2 separate regions of the Homo sapiens genome follow, and region 1 is linked to region 2. The links are contacts of gene promoters, found by promoter capture Hi-C in human tissues and cell types (Jung and others, 2019). All regions are on one chromosome and are shown on one strand. The core of a region is centred on a gene start or on the middle of the fragment in contact, and the rest is flanking DNA. Distances in the headings are between cores, read along the strand shown. Region 1 overlaps FAM83B (family with sequence similarity 83 member B). Region 2 holds the start of HCRTR2 (hypocretin receptor 2).

Region 1 (6,259 bases), core at 1,633-4,132, 290 kb before region 2:
TTTTCAAACAAACTTTTACAGGCAATTATTTCGCAATTCCTTTATGCTGGGTCAGGTGAGTGGAAGAAGGAGAAACTGGGAAGGGGTCACGTAGGAGGTCCCTTTTTTTAACAGGCCATTTAGATGGATAGTTTTGATAAGTAGGAGATGTATGGTGGAGAGCTGGGCATTTTCAGACAGCGGGGGAGCGTGAGAGAAGTAGAGTAGGGTGGAAAAAAAGGAAAGCAGAGTTGTTGAGAGAGGTTGATTACGGCCAAATTGTGAAGGTCCTTTGATCAAACCTTGTGGAAGAGAATAGTGGGAAGTCATGAGATGTTTTTTAGTGACAGTGATGTTGTGAAATCTGATTTTGGACATAATAATATTGTGTTTTGGTTAGTTAACACATACAGAAGAATGTAAGACAGGTTGTAACAGGCGTTGGGATAATGGTCAGCAACAAGCTGACAATAGGCTGAAGCTGACGTCCAATAGCAAACAAAATGTCTTTTCAAGGGGAAAATATATCTTCAATTTCCTACTAGAATAGAATGTAAATGTAACTACTTAATTCTGAATCTTAAGGAAAGTCCTTTTTTGTTTTAAAGCTATTTTTAAGATGTCTTAATCATCTGATTTTAAGCTAATAAAATTTATTTCTGTACAAAAAAAGTTTTAACAATCTACATATAGTTTAAGTCTACCTATGCTTATTGAGTCCCAGCTATGTGCAAGGCACTCTGCTAATTCATACAGATGGGGGGAAAAGCCCACTTCAAGTGATTTAAAGTCTAATATTTGAGGGATATGGTAAAAGATTCATAGGAAATATATAGGTAAAATCATGTGTGCTTATGGGCATCACCCGAATGATCTCTGTGTTATATGGGATCTGGATTTTTTTCCACCTGTTTACTCTTTAAGTATCAGGATTATAGAGACAATTATTGAAATTTTAAAGTAGCAAAAATATGATACAGATAAAATACCTCCAAAATATTTATTAGCAAATATGTTTTACTAGTGCGACAAATGTATATATAGAAGGTTTCTTTTTTTTTTTTTTTTTTTTTGAGACGGAGTCTCGCTTTGTTGCCCAGCCTGGAGTGCAGTGGCATGATCTCGGCTCACTGCCACCTCTGCCTCTCAGGTTCAAGTGATTCTCCTGCCTCAGCCTCCTGAGTAGCTGGGATTACAGGTGTGCGCCACCATGCCTTGCTAATTTTTGTATTTTTAATAGAGACAGGGTTTCACCATGTTGGTCAGGCTGATCTCAAACTCCTGACCTCGTGATCTGTCCGCCTCGGCCTCCCCAGGTGCTGGGATTAAAGGTGTGAGCCACTGCGCCCAGTCGAAGGTTTATTTTTTATTATTAGGGTACATACATTCCTTATAGTCAATATGGAAAAATTCAAGAAAGGGTTAAGAAAAGGCAATCATAATCTCCCAGTAGAGATAATCACTGCTATTGATGTTAGAAATTTTCTTACCTATTAAATAAATAGAGACATACATGTATACACAAGTGAATGTGTATGTGTTTTGATATCTTATATAAATCCCTGAAATAGAAGATTCAGATGTGTTATATTTGAGATCATATGTTGTATAATATTTTTAAAGTTGCCTCCTGTCTTTTTTCACTTAGGATTTTTCTTACAATAAAATAATTGGTTTCTTGTACTGAAATGCAATGGCATAACAAAATAGGGGACAGTGGGAGCTGCTGTGTCTCCCACAGAATTTAAAAACACTAAGATTGACTAGATGGCAGTCTGCTTTTGAGAGCATGTGCTGACAATTGTAAATAATATTAGTGATAATATACTCCTTCATTACTGCCACCTCCACCCATTTCTTACTCATCCCTCTACCTCTTAGCATACCAGTGCTGATATGGTGAGAGTCTCATGGTAATATTCCTTCAGAAATGAAGAAAGCCTCATAACTGTTTCTGTGTAATCATCAGTAAGAAAAATTGGTAACTGTACATTTTCTTTTGAAAATGAGAACTTTCCTTTGGGCTGTATTAATTTCATATTAATAATCACATTTTGAATTTTTTTCTTCCTTGAACTCAAACACAGGCAATAAATAAACATGAAAGGGAAAACATTGTCATTTGGCTAAATATCAATCCAATATACGCTGCTGAAAAAAATCTATAATCATAAAAAAAACTGAGTCATAGTAGTCATATTTCAACCTGCTGAATTCTGGAGCAGTTACTGAAAAAAAAATAAAATCTGAGGTTTGTGATCATGTAGTCTTTTTACAATTGGGCAATGAGAAATTGAGAAAGTCCAAAGTCACCCATTTGGTGACCATAAGGACTGACAGCACTCAGGCATCTGGGCTTCTATTCTTTTTTATTTATTTATTTTTATTATTTTACTTTAAGTTCTAGGGACTTGTGCACAACGTGCAGGTTTGTTACATATGTATACATGTGCCATGTTGGTGTGCTGCACCCGTTAACTGGTCATTTACATTAGGCATATCTCCTAATGCTATCCCTCCCCCTTCCCCCTGCCGCACGGCAGGCCCCAGTGTGTGATGTTCCCCACCCTGTGTCCCTGTGTTCTCATTGTTCAATTCCCACCTATGAGTGAGAACATGCGGTGTCTGGTTTTCTGTCCTTGTGATAGTTTGCTGAGAATGATGGTTTCCAGCTTCATCCATGTCCCTGCAAAGGACATGAACTCATCCTTTTTTATGGCTGCATAGTATTCCATGGTGTATATGTGCCACATTTTCTTAATCCAGTCTATCACTGTTGGACATTTGGGTTGGTTCCAAGTCTTTGCTATTGTGCATAGTGCATCTGGACTTCTATTCTATGATTATTGTATCATGTTGCTTCTCTAGTGGGTAGGAGAAATACATTTGTTAATGACACCAGTAACAGCTAATGTTTAATGCTATGTGCCAGGCAGTGTTTGAAGCATTTTATATATACTGATGTATTAACACATTTATCTTCACAACAGTTCTCTAACGTAGATACCTTTATTGCCCTTTTTTTAGAGGTGAGGAATAAAAAAATAATTTTTTCTAGGCTTCAGAAGTAGAAAATGACAGGTCTGGTATTTGAGCCTGGGTCATGGGCTCAGACAGACCCTGCTTGGGCTTACCATTATGGTGTATTACCTCTGATAGACCACTCCAGGCAGGCTCCATGCAAACCAGCTGAACATTCACAACCATGCTTTTGTTCCAGTATTATTGCATTTGATTCCTGGTTATCTGCCACATGGACTCCAACTCATAAGCATGGAGTATATGATGAGGCTTTGTGCTTTATCTCCTGCCTCCCTCAATTACTTCCACTCCAGGGCTACTGGACCTGTTCTGGGCCTTCCACTGCAGAAGTATTCCTTCCTGCTTTTGTTCATGATTATTTACCTACTTGGAGCATTCTTTCCCAACTTTTTGCCTCCAATTCATCTTTTAAAATCCATGTTAAATTATACTTGTTTGGGAAAGCTTTGTTTGATTCCCTTACCAGACTTCAGTTAGTCATCCTCTATATTATTGTCACTTTATTTTTTTATTATTTATTTATTTATTTTGAGATGGAGTCTCGCTCTGTCACCCAGGCCGGAGTGCAGTGGCGCGATCTCAGCTCACTGCAAGCTCCGCCTCCCGGGAGCTTCTCCTGCCTCAGCCTCCTGAGTAGCTGGGACTACAGGCACCCACCACCACGCCCGGCTAATTTTTTTGTTTTTGTATTTTTAGTAGAGACTGGTTTCACCGTGTTAGCCAGGATGGTCTCTATCTCCTGACCTTGTGATCCGCCCACCTTGGCCTCCCAAAGTGCTGGGATTACAGGCGTGAGCCACCATGCCTAGCCATTATTGTCATTTTATACCTGTTCTTTAAGATGAGATATATTCTTCATTTTCTCATAGGACCCATGATTTTTTAGTGATTTTTTTTTAAGTTTTTTTTTTTTTTTTTTTGAGATGGAGTTTCACTCTTGTTGCCCAGGCTGGAGTGCAATGGGGCAATCTTGGCTCAACGCAACCTCCGCCTCCCAGGTTCAAGTGATTCTCCTGCCTCAACCTCCCGAGTAGCTGGGATTACAGGCATGTACCACCATGCCTGGCTAATTTTTTGTATTTTTAGTAGAGACGGGGGTTCTCCATGTTGGTCAGGCTGGTCTCGAACTCTCAACCTCAGGTGATCTGCCCTCCTTGGCCTCCCAAAGTGCTGGGATTACAGGCGTGAGCCACCGCACCTGGCCGATTGTTTAAAACTAGGTTATTTTTCTTTTTAAATTTATTTGAAATAATTTTTTATGCTGTGTATGAATTATTTGTCAGACACATGTTGCAAATATTTTCTATAGCTTAGTTGTTCACTCTGATAATGGTTTTTTTTTTTGGATTAACAGGAGTTCTTAATTTATAGAAATTCTTAATCTCAGTGTAGCCCAATTTTTTAATCTTTTATTTTAAGGTTAGCTATTTTTGTGTTCTATCAAAGAAATACTTGCAGCTGAGTGCAGTGGCTCATGCCTGTAATCCCAGGACTTTGGGAGGCCGAGGCGGGCAGATCACTTGAGGCCAGGAGTTCATGACCAGCCTGGCCAATATAGGGAAACCCTGTCTCTACTAAAAATGCAAAGAAGACCAGGCATGGTGACTCACGCCTTTAATCCCAGCACTGTGGGAGGCCAAGGTGGGCGGATCACGAGGTCAAGAGATCGAGAACATCCTGGCCAACATGGTGAAACTCCGTCTGTACAAAAAATACAAAAATTAGTTGGGCATGGTGGTGTGCGCCTGCAGTCCCAGCTATGCTGGAGGCTGAGGCAGGAGACTCGCTTGAATCTAGGAGGCGGAGGTTGCAGTGAGCTGAGATCGCGCCACTGCACTCCAGCCTGGTGACAGAGCAAGACCCCGTCTAAAAAAAAAAAAAAAAAAAGAGAAAAATAGAAAATGAGCTGGGTGTGTGGCGCATGCCTATGATCCCAGCTACTTGGGAGGCTGAGTCATGAGAATTGCTTGAACCTGGGGGGCGGAGGTTGTAGTGAGCCGAGACTGCGCCATTGCACTCCAGCCTGTGCAACAGAGTGAGACTCTGTCTCAAAAAAAAAAAAAAAAAAGAAATATTTGCCTTCCCCAATATCAAGAAGATGTTATCCTTAATTGACCTCTAGATGTTTTATTTTGTCTTTCATATGATGTGAGGCCAGGGTCCATTTTGATTTCCATATGAATATGCAGTTACTGCTGTGTCATAACTCAAGTGACCACTTACATATGGGTATATTTCTGGACTCTATTCTAATTCCATTGATTTACTTATCATTGCTGTGCCAAAACCACAGTGTCTTGGTTATTACTGTAAGCCTCTCCATTTGCTAGTGAGTCCTCCAGTATTTTTTTTTTTTTTTGAAACGGAGTCTAGCTCTGTCGCCCATGCTGGAGTGCAGTGGTGAGATCTGGGCTCACTGCAAGCTCCGCCTCCCGGGTTCACGCCATTCTCCTGCCTCAGCCTCTCGAGTAGCTGGGACTACAGGCGCCCGCCACCACGCCCGGCTAATTTTTTGTATTTTTAGTAGAGACGGGGTTTCACTGTGTTAGCCAGGATGGTCTTGATCTCCTGACCTCGTGATCTGCCCGCCTCGGCCTCCCAAAGTGCTGGGATTACAGGCGTGAGCCACTGCGCCCGGCCCAGTAACAATACTTTTTTCAGTATTGCCTTGGCTACTCTAAATCTTTTGCTTTTCTGTAGGAATTTTAGAATCATCTTGTCAACTTTCCAAAAAAAAAATAATGTTGGGATTTTGATTGGGATTTCACTGCATTTATAGAACAGTGTGAGTAGAGTTGAACCTTACAATATTGAGTCTTCTAATCCAGGAACAAGGTATATTCCTCTATTAAGTTATGTTTAATTTTGTTCTGTACAATTTTGTTGTTTTCTGTGTATAGGCCTCACATATCATTTGTTTGATTTATTCCTAATTATTTGTTATTTTTGATCCTGTTGGAAATATTTTAATTTTTTGTCTTAATTTTTTCTTTTTTACTAATATGGAAATATATTTTTTGTATATTGACATTGATTGGGTCCAGTGACTGGATTGATACCCTTATTAATTCCAATAGTTTTTATATAGATTATTTTGGATTTTCTAGATATATTATCTGTAAATAATGGTAGTTTTATTTTTCTCTTTTCCAACCCATATAACTTTCAAATCTTTTGACTGCCGTAATACCTTGGGTACGTGTTCCATTGCAATGTTTAACATAATGTTAAATGTAAA
Region 2 (6,672 bases), core at 2,918-5,417:
ATAGGGTACATGTAATATTTTGTTACACGCATAGAATGTGTAATGGTCAAGCCAGAATATTTAGAGTATCCATTACCTTAAGTATTTATTATTTCTCTGTGCTAGGAGCATGTTAAGTCCTCTCTTTTAGCTATTTTGAAATGTACATTGATGTTAACTATCATTAACACAGAGTAATTGATATGTATAGCAAATAATATTTGCAGTAGGATATCACATGTTTACTTATTTATTTATTTATTTATTTTTATTATACTTTAAGTTCTAGGGTACATGTGCACAACGTGCAGGTTTGTTACATATGTATGCATGCGCCATGTTGGTGTGCTGCACCCATTAACTCCTCATTTACATTAGGTATATCTCCTAATGCTATCCCTCCCCCCTCCCCCACCCCACGACAGGTTCCAGTGTGTGATGTTCCCCTTCCTGTGTCCAGGTGTTCTCATTGTTTAATTCCCACCTATGAGTGAGAACATACGGTGTTTGGTTTTTTGTCCTTGCGATAGTTTGCTGAGAATCATGGTTTCCAGCTTCATCCATGTCTCTGCAAAGGACATGAACTCATCCTTTTTTTGGCTGCATAGTATTCCATGGTGTATATGTGCCATATTTTCTTAATCCAGTCTATCATTGTTGGACATTTGGGTTGGTTCCAAGTCTTTGCTATTGTGAATAGTGCCGCAATAAACATATGTGTGCATGTGTCTTTATAGCAGCATGATTTATAATCCTTTGTGTATATACCCAGTAATGGGATGGCTGGGTCAAATGGTATTTCTAGTTCTAGATCCTTGAGGAATTGCCACACTCTCTTCCACAATGATTGAACTAGTTTACACTCCCACCAACAGTGCAAAAGTGTTCCTATTTCTCCACATCCTCTCCAGCACCTGTTGTTTCCTGACTTTTTAATGATCGCCATTCTAACTGGAGTGAGGCACTGGTCTGAAAATATCAATTCATTTAATTCTTTTAACAACCTTAAGGGGATATCATGGTACAAATTTAGAGCTTTCTTTTGTGTTTGTAAAATGGATTGATTCCTTTTCCCTACATCCAGCAGAAATATTTGAATTGAAGAGAAGAGTAATACCTAAGAACTAGAAATTCCTTTCTTATGTTTCAAAAGATATCAAAAGATCTAAGGAAGATATTCACATCAAAAATGAGTATTATAATATTTATTATCTATGGTGCACTTGCAAAAAAGAAAACAAGTAATAATCTGAAGATTTAAGTGAATATTTTATGACATTGGAGTACCACATATTTAGAAGAAAGCACCAGAGAAATCATAGATAGAAGGAAATGGAATATTTGTAGGATCAAGATAAATACAGCTTGTCATAAAATAAAGCAGGTATCAGGATAAAATCTTGAAAATATTTTCATTTCTCGTTATTTATAACTTCAATTTACTGTGATGATTAATTGTAGGTGGAAGATTTACGAAGAGAAGACTGAAGTATAGACAAGTTGAAGTGCCACAAAATGAAAGCTAATGACACTGACTACTTAGGAAATAGCAGACTGGGTCCATATTTATAGATTGTCAATGACAAGGAATTTGCAGATGTTAATGAATATAGATCCGAACTTAAGTTGCAACAACCTTTCCCACTTTGAGATGAATAGTGCATGGAAGAGTAAAATGCAGATGTTAATAAATCAGAGGAAGACATCGTGCCAGAGTATAAAGTTGACAGATTTATGCCGATGAACTTGAACAAAGCCACAGAAGGCCTACTTGTCAAATTTACTGGTGACAACAGGTCTGGAGAAATGGCTAATGTTTTGGATAATAGCATTAGAATTTAAGGTCTGTTTAAACTTCAAATTAACAGAATGAAATTAATATATGCACATATCAATTGGGTCTTTTGCTTATATATCATCTCTTAATAGAGCCTTTTTGAACAATCATTTCTAATGTGACCTTTGGGATTTTCTACTCATCATCACCTCATCCTGTTTGGTTTGCATTATAGCATCTATCCCTTCCTAACGTTTTCCCTATGTATTTGTTAGTTTGTTTTTTTTTAATCTAACTTTACTAGAAAGTAAAATGCATGGAAACAGCAACCTGTTTAACTTTGTATCACTAAGAGTGGAAAAATAACCCTCAGGAAATATTTGGTAAAATAATAAAATGCCCATTGATGCCCTTCTCTTAAAAAGAAATTTAATTAGTGCAGATTGGGGAAATACAACAATATTTCTCATAAAATGTGATATCTATACAATAACAGAAGTACTATGTCCCAAAAAGTATTCTATAAATAGAAGAAAGAACAGATGGTTTTGCTGCTGATTAATCCATTTATCTTTCGTAAATCATCTAATTTCCCCAGGAACAGCTTCCTCATCTATTAAAGGGGGTTAGTAATAGCTAAGCCCTCAGGGGTTTAAAAATGCATATGAAATAATTTTATAAACCATAAAGCACAAAACAAATATGAAAAATTATGATTGGAGGAGGGGGTGGGGTAGTTAACTAAATCTCAGTGTAAACCACCAATGTCTTGTGTGTGTTGAAAAAATAATTACATATAAAAACTGGTTGCATCCAAAGAATAATGTACTTTTTGCACTGGCAAGACTCAAACCATATTATTGTTACTTCCTCCCAGTTACATATTTTGCAAGATATTGACAATTGTCTAAAGGAAGACCAAACAGATGTAGGTGGGAGCTACTGTCATTTGAACAACATTGAAAAGAAAAATACTAAAAAAGAAACATGAGGGCATATAAAGGAGCGCTGGGGCTGTGATGTTTATTTTGAATCTGTGAAGCATTGTCATGTGGAAGATTTATTCTGTGTAGCACCAAGATGCAAACTAGGAATTAGAGGTAAAAGTCTCAAAAAGACAAATCGTGGCTTGAGACCTTGGTTTAATGTAAGAAACAGTTTTCTCACCCTTAGAGCACTCCCATAAGGATGGAAGTAGTGAATTGTGGTGGTCACATTCAAGCTAGATGGGGACATGTCAGCAATGTTATCAGGAGGCTTCTACTCTGAAGCTGAAGTTCAGACAAGATTTCCAGGCTCTTCCCAAGTGCAAGATTGTAATTACTTAAATGCAATATTTTTACCATGTTTATTAAGAATAAAAGGATCATGAATTCACATTCTGACAAATGCTAGAATACTTATTATTAGAGACAAAACCAGTGCATGAGAGAATGGCAGGTGACATCAGCCCTGAATCAATGGGAAGAAAGACCCAATGGGATGTGGTATTTACCAGAGAGAGCACTTCTGCTTAGATTGCTACATCCTACAGTGAATGTTTAATATCATTGAGTATATTGGTGGTCTGTCATGCTTGACAACATTAACTATGATCATATTTATGACACTTGGCGTCCTTCAAGAATTTGTAGCTCTATTTCACATGACACTTAACTATCGCAAATACAAATTCCAGCTAAATAGACCCTTCAGTTTAAAAACAGTCTCATTCTCAAATTTTAAGGAGAAAGTGAAGACGGAGATGTCTTAAAGACTCGGCAAGTACTAAGTTGGCAAATGTCAAATGTTAAAATAAGTTTATATTAAATGTTAAAGTGTTTGCCTGGAATGACTTTTCCATTGTCCTGCTTGAGAAACACAGAGGCACCTCCTTATTGCTTTTATATTTGCTTTACAAAGACAAATGTATCAACATGCTCTGTATTAATTGTATGTTGACATTTTTGTCATATCCACAGACTGATGCATGTCTGTGCATGGTTTATAATAAGTGCACGTAAAAATAGAGAAAATAAGTAGAAAAAGAGAGAGATTTAACTCTCACCCCCCACCCCCCAAAAAAACAGATTAAATTAGTTTTCATTACTTTTTTTTTTTTCTTCAGCTTCAGCTCTCCCTCAGCGAGGGAGGAGGCTGTGGGCTGCGGACTGAGTGCTGGAATGAGGAGTAATTGAGCTTCAGCTGAGCCGGACGTAGCTTTCTCCTCCTGGTGTCATTGCTGCAGCCTCCAGTGCCGGGTCCCTAGTTCCTCAGCTGCCTATCTTCCCGGTGCAACATCGCCTGTAAAGACAGCAAAGCCACCGCAGAAGTTGCCCGGCAGAAGACTCCGGAGGCATTGGCTCAGTAACTTTTCACGTCATTTTCTGCTCGGGAGCCCCTTCTAGCCTCTCCGCGCAGCCTTTCCCACCGCAAATCACCAGTGCTCATGGGGCAGGCGGAGAGGAGCTTGCAGCATTGAGCGGAACCGGACTTGAGCCCGTGATGTCCGGCACCAAATTGGAGGACTCCCCCCCTTGTCGCAACTGGTCATCTGCTTCGGAGCTGAATGAAACTCAAGAGCCCTTTTTAAACCCCACCGACTATGACGACGAGGAATTCCTGCGGTACCTGTGGAGGGAATACCTGCACCCGAAAGAATATGAGTGGGTCCTGATCGCCGGGTACATCATCGTGTTCGTCGTGGCTCTCATTGGGAACGTCCTGGGTGAGTCTCCTCCCGGGCAGCCCTCCTAGGGGCTATCACCCCCTCTCCGCCCCGGGCTGAGAAGGCTCTAAAGAGACCCCTCCCTCCCCCGGGAAGCAAACAAAGAGGTCGCTGCTCTCGGATGGGGTTTTCTAATAAAATAATAATAATAATAGAAAGTTTTCTGATTTTCCGAACCGGGACCGAGCCCTGGAAAGGTTATTCCCTGTTTTGCAGGAATAACGGGGAAACCGCGTTTCTTTTTCGAGCACCTAGATTACAAGCGCAGGGAGAGGGGCCGCGGCAGGGATCTCCAGGTGGATTTTGTTGAGTGTGTGTGTGTGTGGGTGGGTAGGTGGGGGAGTCAGTCATCCCTTTGTGTAACGTGGCTGGGTGTTTCAGGGGGGTTGGGACGAGACAGAGCTTGCAGAATACAAAGCTACATCCCTAAGGAGCAAGCTCTCTGTGGCTGTGGAAGTCACAAAGCATTTGTGAGCTAGGTGGCATTGCCCTTTGGCGAGGAGGTTTAGTCTCCAGTCAAGAGGTGGTAATGAACCAGCAGGGAGTGGAGACGGAGGCAAAGCAGGGAAGTGCACTCACTCATAGAAGCTGAATTAAACAGGATCCATGCCTGGAGCAAGAAGGAGGGGCATCGGAGAAAAGTACCACAGAGATCTCAATCATCCATCCATCCATTCATTCTTACATCCATTCAGCCAAATATTTTTTTTTTTCAGTCTGCTTGTTGCCAGGCTCAGGAATTATTCATGTCAACTGTTTGTTGTTGTTTTGTTTTGTTTTGTTTTCTCCAAAGATGAGACTAAGCTTAATGCTAGGCTATTTGTCCCGGTCTAGGTCTGTATGCAAACACGGGTTTCCTCGACCCCTCATCCCCCTCCCCCTAAACAATTTCTGAGGGTTGGGGAGGGGGTGAGATGGCAACATGGTGAGTGCGATGATGGAATGTATTAGGGCAGTTGGGGAATATACCTCCAGAAAAGGGGCTTTGGAAGGGAGGGATAACTTGAAATAAATTGTGAATGGAAGGAGAGTGTACCTTGATGAATGAAGAGTAGAAGGCTGGGAGACTTTTCACATGCAGAGGGCAGTGTGGAGGAAGTCTCTGCTGAAAATGACAGGAGATGGAGGAGGCTAGGAGTTGCTCTTGATTTTCATTTATAAAAGAAGAAGAAGGTGAGTGAGGTGAGATAGGCTGGGAGGCTTTGCAGTCAAAAGCAAAGAACTTGTAGCTGCAATGGGGACTGACAAGGAAATTATCAGGCTTTCAGACTAACCTGATTTTTGCCTTCTCTCCCAAGTGTGTTGGTCTGGGTAGAAATCATCCCGAGTAGTCTCTCACCAACTCAGCAGGCAGAATAGATGATAGTATGTGAATGACAGGAGTTCTCCAGAGTGTTGGTAGAATGTTATTTGAGGAGACAAGAAACCTCTGAGAACTTTAGTACATTTTTAAATATTATTTTTAGACTGTTTTCCTTTGGTTGATTTAAAAGTAAAAATAAAGGAAATCTTTTTGGGATACTAACAAAATGAAACAAAAGTGGAAATACACAAGATTAGGATTCTTGTTATAAGCATAATTCTGTTGATAATAATCCTAATCTTGCTTTCCTTCTTCTTGTTACCCATCCTTAGGATTACATCTCTTAAGACACATGGCTACCAGCATAGCAACATTTTACTGCATTATGCCAACACTTATTGATAAGTGAATAATCAAAATTGAACATATATTGAGTACCTACTGTGTGCCAGAGCCCTTCATGTACATTCTCTCCCTTAAATATCAAAATAACCCACATTAGCCAGAAGAAGAAACAAGACTTAGAGAAATAAAATGACGTATTAAGGGACATAATTTAAATTCAGTTCCATTTTTTCTGACCTCAGATCCAGAATTCTCCATTGTTATTCCACTCTAGAGCTAAAAAGCATATAGAGAATAGATTCTCTGCTCCTGATTGTCTGCAAGTTTATTAGATGTGTTCCTGTTCTCCTCTGCATCAACGCCCACTGCCAATAAAGTACAATGAGGGATTAATGGCACTGTCATTCTCTTCACCAAAAACCTTTCCAGAGAAGCAGTAATTTTTTTATGAATAGCTATCAATAGTAACTATTTGCCTTCCTTATTTTAATTTTCGGCTGAATCTTTGTGGTAAAATGTGCTCTTCTTTGTTGTTATTGCATTTTTACCTTGCATAGACCT

The links. Contacts are between HindIII fragments. The study calls those that stand out against the background at their distance.
Region 1: a contact is called between a fragment that was not itself captured here and the fragment with the promoter of HCRTR2 in region 2, in 2 of the 25 tissues and cell types used here (stomach and thymus).

What each region holds. Positions count from the first base shown.
Region 1 is chr6:54,879,411-54,885,669 of GRCh38, forward strand. All of the region lies in intron 2 of FAM83B (family with sequence similarity 83 member B), which reads left to right. Among named protein-coding and RNA genes, the nearest start is that of FAM83B, 36 kb to the left of the region's middle. The HindIII fragment of the contact is 8,757 bases long and covers 1-6,259 here.
Region 2 is chr6:55,170,348-55,177,019 of GRCh38, forward strand. HCRTR2 (hypocretin receptor 2) reads left to right here and starts at 4,168. Exons shown (of 7, transcript NM_001384272.1): 1 at 4,168-4,463. The coding sequence starts at 4,241. The HindIII fragment of the contact is 12,053 bases long and covers 1-6,672 here.